2 separate regions of the Homo sapiens genome follow, and region 2 is linked to region 1. Evidence: promoter capture Hi-C in human tissues and cell types (Jung and others, 2019). All regions are on one chromosome and are shown on one strand. The core of a region is centred on a gene start or on the middle of the fragment in contact, and the rest is flanking DNA. Distances in the headings are between cores, read along the strand shown.

Region 1 (5,863 bases), core at 2,974-5,473:
TCCCCAAGAGTGCTTTCAGGACCTGGCTGATGTTCCAGGATCCAGAGACGTTGGCCCCAGAGAGATGTACCCTTGCTCCTGCCTGGCTCTGTCATGTTGGCCGAGGCCCTCAACTCTGAGCCTTGGGCTCAGAGCCCATGGAGACTTGGGTTCCATGTCTTCAAAGCTGAGACAGTGGGGCTTATACTGCAAGCTCGGTCTTTGAAAGTACCAAATTGACAAATTCAAAGAAGGCAAACTAAAGTCCTATGTAAGTCCACTGTTCAGTATCTTCCTAAGGGCCTTCTCTGGGCCAAGTGGTTTCACACTGACCAAATCCACCATGTCAGCTAATGTACCTGCTGCACAGATGACATCAGCAAGGCGGTGAGGATTTGTCTTCCTCACCGGGCTTCCTGGTTCCTGGAATAGGCCATCTGCTCCTGAACCCCAGGGCCAGGTGCCAAAGGAGTGAGGGCAGATGTGGGTGGTTGGGAGGGGTCCCTCCAGGACTGCACGGGAGCTGGGAGAGGAGCACTCCTGGAGGGGTGGCAGGGCCAAGGGTATCCAGGGATCCCATAGGGCCCCACAGTCTTCCTATGACCTGAGCGCTCCTGGACCAGCGTTCTCCAGCCTCACCTGGCAGGCAAGTGAGGAAGACATCGTGCCTCCCTTGTGTGATTTTATGTTTCAGCACTTTGGAGCCAAATACTTATTTCAAGAGGGGGATTGCGGTGGGAGGGTGTCAAGTAATACAAAAAATATTCTTCATGTAGAAAAGGTTTTCAAATTTCAGATCTATTTGTATTGCTGTCAAAATTTTTGCTATGTCTCCAGCCACCTAGACTAGCACTTGCTATGTTAGCTTCAATTGACTTACTTTTTAAAACTTGAACCATATATTAAAAAAAAAACCTGAGCAATATCTGAAATATCTGCCTTTACTGTGCTAGTTATATTTTTTCTTATTACTTTAAAAAAATAAATACATAAATCTATATTTTATAGATTTCAGAGTACCACCTGAAGTCACCTTGTCAATTACACACTGTACAACATGGATTTAGTGTAAACCTTCAATCCCTACTGGGAACCCTCTTGCAGGCCCAGCCGTTGGGCCCTGGAGGAGTGAACGGCCCAGGCCAGGCAGAGGGGGGTAGGCAGATGCTGCCTAGGGGTCTAGAGACCATAGCACACATGCCAGCTCAGGAGATGCCCTGCCTTTAACTCAGCAGCCAGACCCCTGCCTCCCACCTTGAACTGTGCTTAACAAGGCATCCCTGAGGAGCCGCTGTGCCCTGCATTACCTGGTAGAGCGGCACAGAGTCTGAAGACTTCAGGAGAAGGTGGGGCTCTATGGGGAGTAAGAGTCCCCAGGCAGAGAAAGAAAGGTGGAGCCTTTTGAGCATAAGCATAAGCAAAGGACACAGGGAAAGGGGTGGGGAACTTCGCTGACCCGAATTTGAGAGGTACCCCTGTGGCCGAGTGAGCTGGAGACATGTCAAAATGGCCTGGTCTGATGGCCGCCTGCCTGTGCAGGCGGTGCGGAGGCCCCCAGAGTGTACAGGGTTTTATTTTATTTTATTTACATATTTACATATTTATTTATTTATTTACATATTTGTTTATTTATTTATTTTTGAGACGGAGTCTCGCTTTGTCACCCAGGCTGGAGTGCAGTGGCGCCATCTCGGCTCACTGCAAGCTCCGCCTCCCGGGTTCACGCCATTTTCCTGCCTCAGCCTCCCGAGTAGCTGGGACTACAGGCGCCCGCCACCACGGCCGGCTAATTTTTTTGTATTTTTAGTAGAGACGGGGTTTCACCGTGTTAGCCAGGATGGTCTCGAACTCCTGACCTCGTGATCCGCCCGCCTCGGCCTTCCAAAGTGCTGGGATTACAGGCATGAGCCACCGTGCCCGGCCAGGGTTTTAAATTTCAATCGCCAATTGTAAAATTGTGAGGCTTGTACCTAAAATATGGATCCTTGGCCACCCTATTTAAAATCCTAACTCCCACCCCACTTTCCTCTGCTCCATCTTCCCCTAGCATTTAATGGCCTTCTAAGTATTTTATGCGTAATTACTTATGCTTAGCGCCATGTGCTTCTAAACGTTTAGTGCCTTTTCTAAACTACTTCAAACATGTAGCCCAGGTCTAGCACATAGTGGGTGCTCAGTAAGTATTTAACGAACGACTAGCGGAAGGGATGGCCCCATGGGTGCCACAGTAGCTTCTGTTCTGGGGCCTCAGGGCGCCTGCGGGAGGGGCAGCGGCCAGGCCTGAATCCCTGGTTCGCCCTCGACTCAGCCCACGCGGGCCTTTCAGGCTTCTGGGACAGATCCTAGGTCCAGCTGCCCACCTGATTTTGTGGCAAAGAAAAAAAGAAGAAGAAGAAGCGAGAGGCGATGGCGTTTGCTTTGGCCAGATTTAAGGGCAAGCGAGGCTGCGCGCGGCTCCCGCAGGGTCGGATCTCCGAGCTCCAGGGCGCCCCTCCACCCGGGTGTAGATTTCCCGCGGACCCCTTCGCCCTCCCGGGTTTCATCAGCTGCGCAGGAATGGAGCTGGCCAGAGCTCTGGGAGCGGGGAGGGAGGCGCCGCCACCAGAGGGCGCCGGAGCCCCAGCGCTGCGGCCGGTGAGCGGCCAGGCTCCCCGGCCCAGCCCAGCAAAGGCCTGGGGACGCCCGACGGCTGCCTTCTTCACTGGACCTCACTGCCTTCAGTTCTTTAAGAGCAGGGCCAAGTCAGTGGGGTTCCCGGCTCCAAGCCCAGTGCCCAGGGTGGGTGGGTGGGTGGGTGGGTGGGTGGATGGATGGATGGATGGATGGATGGAGTGCCGGCCCACAGCCATCTAACGGCCAAAGTGGTTTTGGAAAAAAAATGCACAGAAGACACCTACTCCCACCAGCGGAGTTCCGGAGCCCTCGCAGCCTCCTGTTGACCGCTCCCGCCTAATGCAGCCGCTGACCGCCCACTCCCCGACGGCCAGGACTCCCCAGGGACAGGGACGTGTCCCCAGGGCAGGCCCCTGGATGGACGCGGCGACTGACCCCACTTCGCTGGACGCTGTGCTGGGAAGGACACAGAGAGGTGGCTGGGGCAGCCTGCGGTCACAAAGCGAGGCCCAAAGGGGCGCTCTCCTCACCCCCACGTCTCCTGGGTGCCGACCTGCACCCTCCCTTCGCCACCGGACTGGGGCCATCTGGGATGTCTCGGGGGTATCCGGAGGGCTAAGCACCGCCGAGGGACGGCTCCGTGGGAAGAGTTTTCTGGACCCAGAAGGCAGACGCCAGTAGTACTGTCCTAGGAGTCGGAGGTCGGGGTGGGGGAGTTCTCAGCTCTTTGGGTCGCACGGAGCTTTTCTTGGGTAAGGCAGTAAGTACTTAGGTTTAAAGGACTTACTTACAGCTACCATTTATTGAGTACTGTCTGCTTGTCAGACACGATGCAGAGAATTTCGCGGCGTGGGGCGGGTCTCATTGAATCTCCCGTCCCACTCCGCGGGGTGGGCCTGTGATTAGCTCATTTCACCATTGAGAGGTCGGAAGTACAAAGGCTACATTCGCTTTTACTGAGAGCCGCCGGCGCCTTCTGCTTTGTTTGTACAGGCGAGGAAACTGAGGCTCGGCTGGTGGCGCCGTGGGCTTGGAGTCCGAGCCACGCTGACTGCAAAGACGGGTCTCATTCCCGCAGATCGAGCTCTGCCGGCGGCTGCGCCGCAAGCCGGGCAGGTGGCGAGCTTGAGCCCCCACGCACAGAAAGCAGGACCCCCTCGGCTGCCTTGGGCCGCCACCGCCAGCAGGCCCTCCGCCCGGGACTAACTTGTTTGCTTTTCATTGGTTCTCATTCAGTTCCCGCCATCGAAAGGCCCCGTCCCGCAGCTTTCCACGCGCGCCCCACTTTACGCCTAAGGTCCTCAGTCTCTCCAGTGGGGCCCTGTCACAGGGACAATAAGCGGCCCTCCAGCCGGCGTCGCTCAGGCTGCGGACCTCACTGCAGACCGGGCCAGCGGTGCGGGGCCCAGCGGAGCCTGAGAAGGTCAAAGGCCGGAGCGCACTGCGCCTCGGGAGCACAGAGGGAGCGGAGGAGGGGCGAAGGGGATGGGTGGGGGGTGCCGCCGAGGGAGTCGCGCGTCAGAGACCCCGGCCACGGCCAGCACTCGGCTCCGGGCCCGCCCCTCACCGCGCGCCCCGCCCCGCCCCGCCTGGCTCTCCCCTCTAAAGCGCCCGGCGCGCGCCTCCCACCGCCGCACTTTCACTCTCCGTCAGCCGCATTGCCCGCTCGGCGTCCGGCCCCCGACCCGCGCTCGTCCGCCCGCCCGCCCGCCCGCCCGCGCCATGAACGCCAAGGTCGTGGTCGTGCTGGTCCTCGTGCTGACCGCGCTCTGCCTCAGCGACGGTAAGTGCGCTCGGCGGGGAGGCCCTGGCGAGGCTCTGGGCTTCGGCTCCCGCCCGGCGCAGAGCCGCGGCTCCTCTGCCTGCGCCCGCAGTTTGCGCCGCCCGACACAGTGGGGGTGGAGGCAGCTCGCTTAGCTGGGCGCTCTGGTGCGGTGTCGCGTTCAAAGCCCTACTTTTGCGCCGAGGGTTTGTGACCTGCAGAGAGCGACCGCCTGACCTCAAGCTGGCTGCAGAGCGAGGTCAGCCGGGACAACTGGGCAGGAACGCCCCAAGAGAGCGTTCGGGACTGGCGCGGGAAGGCGCGAGGGTGGGGAGCCGCGGACCCCAGACCCCTGCCTGCCCACCCTCCACCCACTGCCTTCCCGCTGCGGGCTCGGTTTCCACAGGCGAATGGGCTCCGAGGTCCTGCTGCGCACAGTGCTGGAGGTCGGGCGGTGCATGGCGAGAGCGCGCTTTGCAAAGTTCGCCTCATGCCGCGACTTGAGGCTGTGAGGTCCGATGCAGCCGCGCAGCCTCCGCTCCCTGCGAAGCCGATCCTCTCCCCACACCCTCGCGGGGCTCTTGGCCAGGCGCGGGCGGGCTGCGCGGCGCAGCTGTCGGGCTTGTGCCACCCGCCAGGCCGCGCTTCTGCACAGCTCCGCGGTCCGCAGCGACGCGGACCTGGGCGCGCGTCCAGCCGCTGTCTTCCTGTCTCTTCTCGGGTTCACCTGAGAGAGGCCCAGGGACCCTCCGAGCCTCACACGCCCCCTCCCCAGCTCCCCAAACACACCTGCAGACAGGCTCTTTTGTCACCAGCTGGCCAAGCGCTTTGCCCCAGAATGAGAGCTGCAGCAAAGTTCAATCTCCAAGGCCCTGGGCCACTGGGAACCGTGGTGTCCCGTTTCACTGGGAGAGGGCTTTTTTCTTTTCTTTCGCTGAAGAGAAACTCGCTGCGCTGTCACAGGACACCGATGCAAACCAAAATAAACTGTTGCCTCTGAACACACAAAACAAAACCCTGTGGCTCAGGCCGCTGAGCTTCCTTGGCTGTGAAGTTTCCTGCAAAGAGTTGAAGGACACTCTGAGTGCTCTTGCAGCCGCGGGCTGTGCAGGCCCAGCGCGCCTCGAGCCCTTGGCTGGGTTGGTGCAGACGTGGCCCCGGCGTCCTAGCTGGCTTGGACTGTGCGCTGGTGTGAGCAGGACCAGCGCAGCTGAGTCGGGCTGGAGAAGCTGGGCAGCCTGGGGTCGTGGCGGACTGCCTAAGTGTTAAGGACACAGACTGAAGGCAATTGGGAATGTTCGTCGTTGATGAAAAGTCCCTGAGGCTGTGTCTGCACACTGACCCCCCCCCCCCCCCGCAAGTCATGGGGCATGTTTCTAGTTTTTATTGCTGGATATTCTTCTGTTCCTGTAAGGTCTCTGGTTTGGGCAGTTATTGACTGATTGGTGGGATGAGCGCGGAGGTGTCACAGTGCGCCGCTCTGGGAAATGGTGCTGCCCCCTCCCCGGA
Region 2 (5,647 bases), core at 438-2,937, 200 kb after region 1:
AAGACTCTGCTCTGGGATGTGGGAGTGGGTTCCCATGTTGGGTGGGGGGAGGGAGACACATAAGGTACATGGTGGGAACGTGCAGTGACAGGGGTGCAGGCCAGCAAGGTGACACAGCTCTGACCACTGCGCCATCCTCCTGCCCACCTACTGTGACATTGGAAGAGGATAGTTGGGACTGACCAATGAATTCACGTGATCGTGGAATGAATACAGTATATTTTTTAGTAGCCAAAATGGTTTTTATTTTATGTATAAGAATTGTGTGGATTGCTTTTCTCTACAGATGCCAAGGGCATTGGATCTGACAGCCCTGCAGCACAGAGAGGCAGGCCCAGGGCAGCTGCAAGCCAGGCAGCCTGGGCTCAGCTCCCAGTTCTCCTGTGATTAACTGCTGGTCCTGGACAGGCTCTTCATCCCTTCCATGCCTCAGTCTTTTCATCTGTAAAATCACAAGAATGTGTAGGTTTGCCATGAGGAGTAAGGCAATATGTAAATGATCGGAGTAACTGCATGGAGGAAATGCTGAGTATTGATTACAGCTCTGTCAGATCAGATCCAAAGCCACTGGCATCCAGCAGAGCCATGTTGACCTCCCATCCTAATGGCAGCGCTTTCTCCATGTTCTGTGAAACACAATCAAACACACATGAGTCACATTAAGCAACAGGACCTCCCATAAATAATTTTGTGTTGACTCTGCAAAACGCATGCTGTAGTGCCAACCAAGTTCACAAAGCTGTTGCTCAAGGAGTCTGTTTTTTTTAATTTTAAATAATAGCTCTGCATTGCCTGGAAGAATGTTATTTACATTCCCAAATTTAAGGTTTGTGAAAGAATTTGCCATAACAGAATTTGAAAACTCAGCAAGTTTTTAGTTTTGTGCTCAGTTTTTTAAGTTTTAAAGTTTCCTTCAACTTCAAACAAAGCCAGTTCTCATGTCCACATATTGCATCTAGCTCTGTGCAGAAAATAATTAATAGTTAGACCTCTGTTTAAAATCTGCCTCCACATTTATGCAAATCACATACATTCTCAGCATCTTGGTGCTTTCAACTCTTACATGGGGGAAAGGAAACTAACTCATGCATAATTTTTATGAAGACTAAAAGAGACTTAAACCATGCATGCTATACTTGTTATTGGATAAAAGGCTGCAAAAATAAGAGTAGATACCACTTTTGTTGGGCAGATATTTACTAGGTACTATGCACTTTACATATATCCAGTTTCCTCCCCAGTACATCTTGGACTTTTCAGGAGGATGAACTTTGAAGAAACTGCCAGAAATTTAGGCAGAGAGCCAGATGGAGAACCAGAGGGTGTTTAAACAGGGCCACGGGAGAAGATACAATATGAGATCAGGGATGGATATTGAGTTCTAGAGAAAGAATACTGAGATAAAAAATGAAGAAAGTCTCTTAGACTTGTCACACACAATTTTGGCAGCATTACATTGGCCAAAGGTAGACTGGCCTACATTCAGGTTGAAAAACAAGACAATTTGGCCAAACGATGTCTAGGTCAAAAACCAAACATTTAATAACTAGGTCATTTTGGATGCATCCTGGGGAGTAGTTTTGCAAACCTTGATCTACCTCTAAGAAGTTTTGCCAGTTTCTCAGAAACTTTTTTAATGGTCATAAATGTGTTTAAATTTTTACTTGCTATTCTGTTCTGTTGCTCTGTTGAAATTTAAGTAGTGAAAAGGTAGAATAAATAATGCTCATCAGTAGATTTTCTGAGACAATTTCTCAGACAAATAGTATAGTTTAATTTGTATAAGGAAGGCATCTAAGGACATAATATTCCAAGGTGAGGCTGAGGGTTGTCCTAAGGTGGGTGGGAGTGTGGGAGATTTGGTTGTTCTTTTGCTTTCCTGTATTGTTCTCATTTTTATTTTTATTTATTTATTTTATTTTATTTTTTTGAGATGGAGTTTTACTCTCATTGCCCAGGCTGGAGTGCAATGGCACGATCTTGGCTCACCACAACTCTGCTTCCTGGGTTCAAGTGATTCTCCTGCCTCAGCCTCCCAAGTAGCTGGGATTACAGGCATGTGCCACCACGCCCAGCTAATTCTGTATTTTTAGGAGAGACGGGGCTTCTCCCTGTTGGTCAGGCTGGTCTCAAACTCCCAACCTCAGGTGATCTGCTCACCTTGGCCTCCCAAAGTTCTGGGATTACAGGCGTGAGCCACTGTGCCCTGCATTTTCTCATTTTTAAAATGAACTTGGTTTCCTTTTGTAATAGAAAAAAAAGAGTAAATATAAAAAGAAAAACATCTGGAATATTCAGAGATGTTTAAAGATTTTTTAATTTTTATTTATTTATTTATTTATTTATTTATTTTTGAGACAGAGTCTCGCTCTGTCGCCCAGGCTGGAGTGCAGTGGTGTAATTCTGGCTCACTGCAATCTCCACCTGCCGGGTTCACACCATTCTCCTGCCTCAGCCTCCCCTCCCGAGTAGCTGAGACTACAGGTGCCCGCCACCATTCCCGGCTAATTTTTTGTATTTTTAATAGAGACAGGGTTTCACCATATTACCCAGGATGGTCTCGATCTCCTGACCTCGTGATTCGCCCGCCTCGGCCTCAGAAAGTGGTGGGATTACAGGCGTGAGTCACTGTGCCCGGCCAAGAATATTTTTTTTAAAGAATATGTTAAATTCATTTTAAGCCAATGTTAGATGGCTACTAGGGGAAATTTTCAGAATTCAGCATCAGGGAATTGAGTGAAAGAGAGGCAGATACTGGGTAGAGTTTGGAAAATGCAAACCTAGGTCTCTGATACACCCCTTCCTCCACTGTCTTTCAGTGAACACCGTTGTTATTGCTGAATATCCAAAGATTTGGCTTTGCACTATAGGAAGTTATGTGCATTCCTTTTCACCATTCTGATCTACAGGGACTGCCTCCATGTTCCTGCACAGAGAAGACAGGAGAGAAAGAAGCTGCATAGCTTTTGTTGTTTCTTGTTGTCGTCATCAGAATTTTTCCAGGAACGGCACGCAGCTAATAGTTTCTCCCATAAGAACATTTCACAGGGAAGGACACTCATAAGGATTTGAGGCTATACAAATCTAATCAAATGAAAAGAGATGTGAGGCCTGGTGGAGTGGCTCATACCTATAATCCCAGCACTTTGAGAGGCCAAGGCAGGTGGATCGGGAGGTCAGGTGTTCGAGATCAGCCTGGCCAACAAGGTGAAACCCTGTCTCTACTAAAAATACAAAAATATTATCTGGGTGTGGTGGCACATGCCTGTAGTACCAGCTACTTGGGAGGCTGAGGCAGGAGAATCGCTTGAACCTGGGAGGCAGAGGTTGCCGTGAGCCAAGATCGCACCACTGCATTCCAGCCTGGGCAACAGAGCCAGACTCTGTCTCAAAAAAAAGAAAAGAGATGTGAAAGAACTCATCATTGTGTATATTTGGTGCATGGCTCAGAGCCCTCATGATGAACTAATTATATGTGACACTGTATGAACAAGAACATCACTCTCAATCTGCTTCTTGCTACAGCACATTTTCTCCTACCCAGCTAAAATGTGGCAATTCGTCATTGGGTTTGTTTTGCATTACTGCAGTGTAAGAGTGACACTTAAGCTCTCCAGGCAAATGAGGGCATTCCTTCTGTTGAATGTGTTCAAGAGTGGGATCCTCTTGTGAATTCACTTATGTTTTAGTTCTATGCAATTCTTAGTTCTTCAGTGGGGCAATGCTATTATTATCGAATTACCAAAATGCAGACCAATGCTGAATAAAACATGTTTTCTAACTTGTAGCTCAGAAGGATTTGGCAATATTGGTATTTTCCTCTTTCTCAACTTTCCCAGATTTTTGGCTAAGGCATCTGCATCCTCCATGTGCTCCTTGTTAGAACAATATTGCCTCTCGTTTTAGGAGGAGTTCTCAGTGCCACAGTCAGACCTGTGATGTGCTTTCTTCTGGCACCACTGGTGCACTGTCCCAGAGCTCTTCAAGAAATGCAAGAAGGGCCGGGCTGCTTGAGATGCGAACAAAACCCCCTTTATGGGATCAGGGGAGTTGCAGCATCTGGCATTTGACAAGACACTGTTTCACGTGACGAAGTCACATGGACTTTTGGAAAAGAACCCACTGCACTGTAGGTGTCCGATGCCTGCCACAGCGTATGAGTCAGCGGGGATGAATGCTCTGAGAGAGACTTCTGAAGCACAGATGTTGGTGTGAGTTTAGAAAGAAAAAGCCTGATTCTTCCACCTCATTGGAATCCCTGTTGTGGTCTCAGCCAGATAGCATCTACACCATTTAATAGGTTTATAACAGCAGTTCTACATCAGACACGGCAAACTGGTCCATGGTCACTGAGATTCGTGAGGTCTCACTAGCTCAGTGCCGCTGGATATCCGTGCACCAAACTGGGTCATAAAGCATCGGCACTGCCACCAGAAGCTATGCAGATAGCGCCAAGACCACTGGACACCAACTAGAACATAAGAACACCGTGAGAAAATAGGGTACACCACTCAGCCGGGGCTGCCATGACAAAGTACCAGACTGGGCGGCTTAAACAACAAAAACATATGTCTCCTGCAGTTCTGGAGGCTGGGAGTCTGAGACCAAGGCACTGGCAGGTTTTGTTTCTTCTGAAGCTACCCTCCTTGGCTTTTTCTTATATCTTTTCCCTGTATCTTCCCATGGTCTTCCCCCTATACCTTCCCTATATCTTTACATTGTCTTCCCTTTGTATCCTAATCTCTTCTTCTTATAAGGACACCAGTCATATTAGATTGAGGCCCACCCTAACCATCACATTTTAACTTAGTCACCTCTGTAAAGGCCCTATTTCCAAATACAGTGACATTCTGACGTTCTGAGCATTGAGATCTCAAAATATGAATTAAGGAGAAACACAATTCATGCCACGACTATGGGTAAAGAGGAATTTGACACCATTTGCTTTTCCTTGACCACTTTCCCAGTGATGAGGAAGGGCTAGGATTAGCTTCCTATCCCAGCATGAGGCACCATATTTGAATATAATACCAAATATGGCTCAAGGGATCAAGCCATTGAAAACAATAAGGCAACTCATACAAGAAAAATCAGGCTTTTTCTTTCTCAGGCAATTCACTTTCCCTTACTTAGCAATTGCTGTATTCTTTATTTCTATCTCCATATCTTAGAGTAATTACTAGAACTTCCAGAAAGATGGTAAATCATAATAGGCACCCTTCCTTGCATCTGATTTTAAAAGCAATGCTTCAATAATTTCACCATCACAGGTGCCCACAGATGAATTTTATTAGATATTTCTTGTCATCCTCATTGATCATTTAATACGGTTTTTATGAGAACATATGTTGAAGTTTAATGAATGCCCCTTTGATAGTTTTAGAAATTAATTTGTATTATTTGCCCTTTGGCTAGTTTATTATAGATAGTCTACCAATGGACTTATTTTTAATATATCAGCAATTCATTCCTGAGGAAAACTTAGACACAGACTGTTATTCCTCAAATATGTGAACGAATGCCATTGGTTAGTCGTCAGCTTAGAATTTTGGCCTTGCTATTCATAACTGAAGTAAACCTGAAGGTTTCTTCTTTTAGTATTTTCATATTCAGATACCACAGTTATACTAACACAAAAAGAGGTTTG

What was found. Contacts are between HindIII fragments. The study calls those that stand out against the background at their distance.
Region 2: a fragment that was not itself captured here is called in contact with the fragment with the promoter of CXCL12 in region 1 in 1 of the 25 tissues and cell types used here (thymus).

The regions. Positions count from the first base shown.
Region 1 is chr10:44,383,457-44,389,319 of GRCh38, reverse strand. It overlaps CXCL12 (C-X-C motif chemokine ligand 12), which reads left to right and starts at 4,223. Exons shown (of 3, transcript NM_199168.4): 1 at 4,223-4,375. The coding sequence starts at 4,315. RefSeq lists a silencer at 2,485-2,694 and enhancers at 4,588-5,279, 5,280-5,863. The HindIII fragment of the contact is 18,967 bases long and covers 1-5,863 here.
Region 2 is chr10:44,178,932-44,184,578 of GRCh38, reverse strand. No RefSeq gene overlaps it. Among named protein-coding and RNA genes, the nearest start is that of LINC02881, 110 kb to the left of the region's middle. RefSeq lists an enhancer at 2,024-2,193. The HindIII fragment of the contact is 9,423 bases long and covers 1-5,647 here.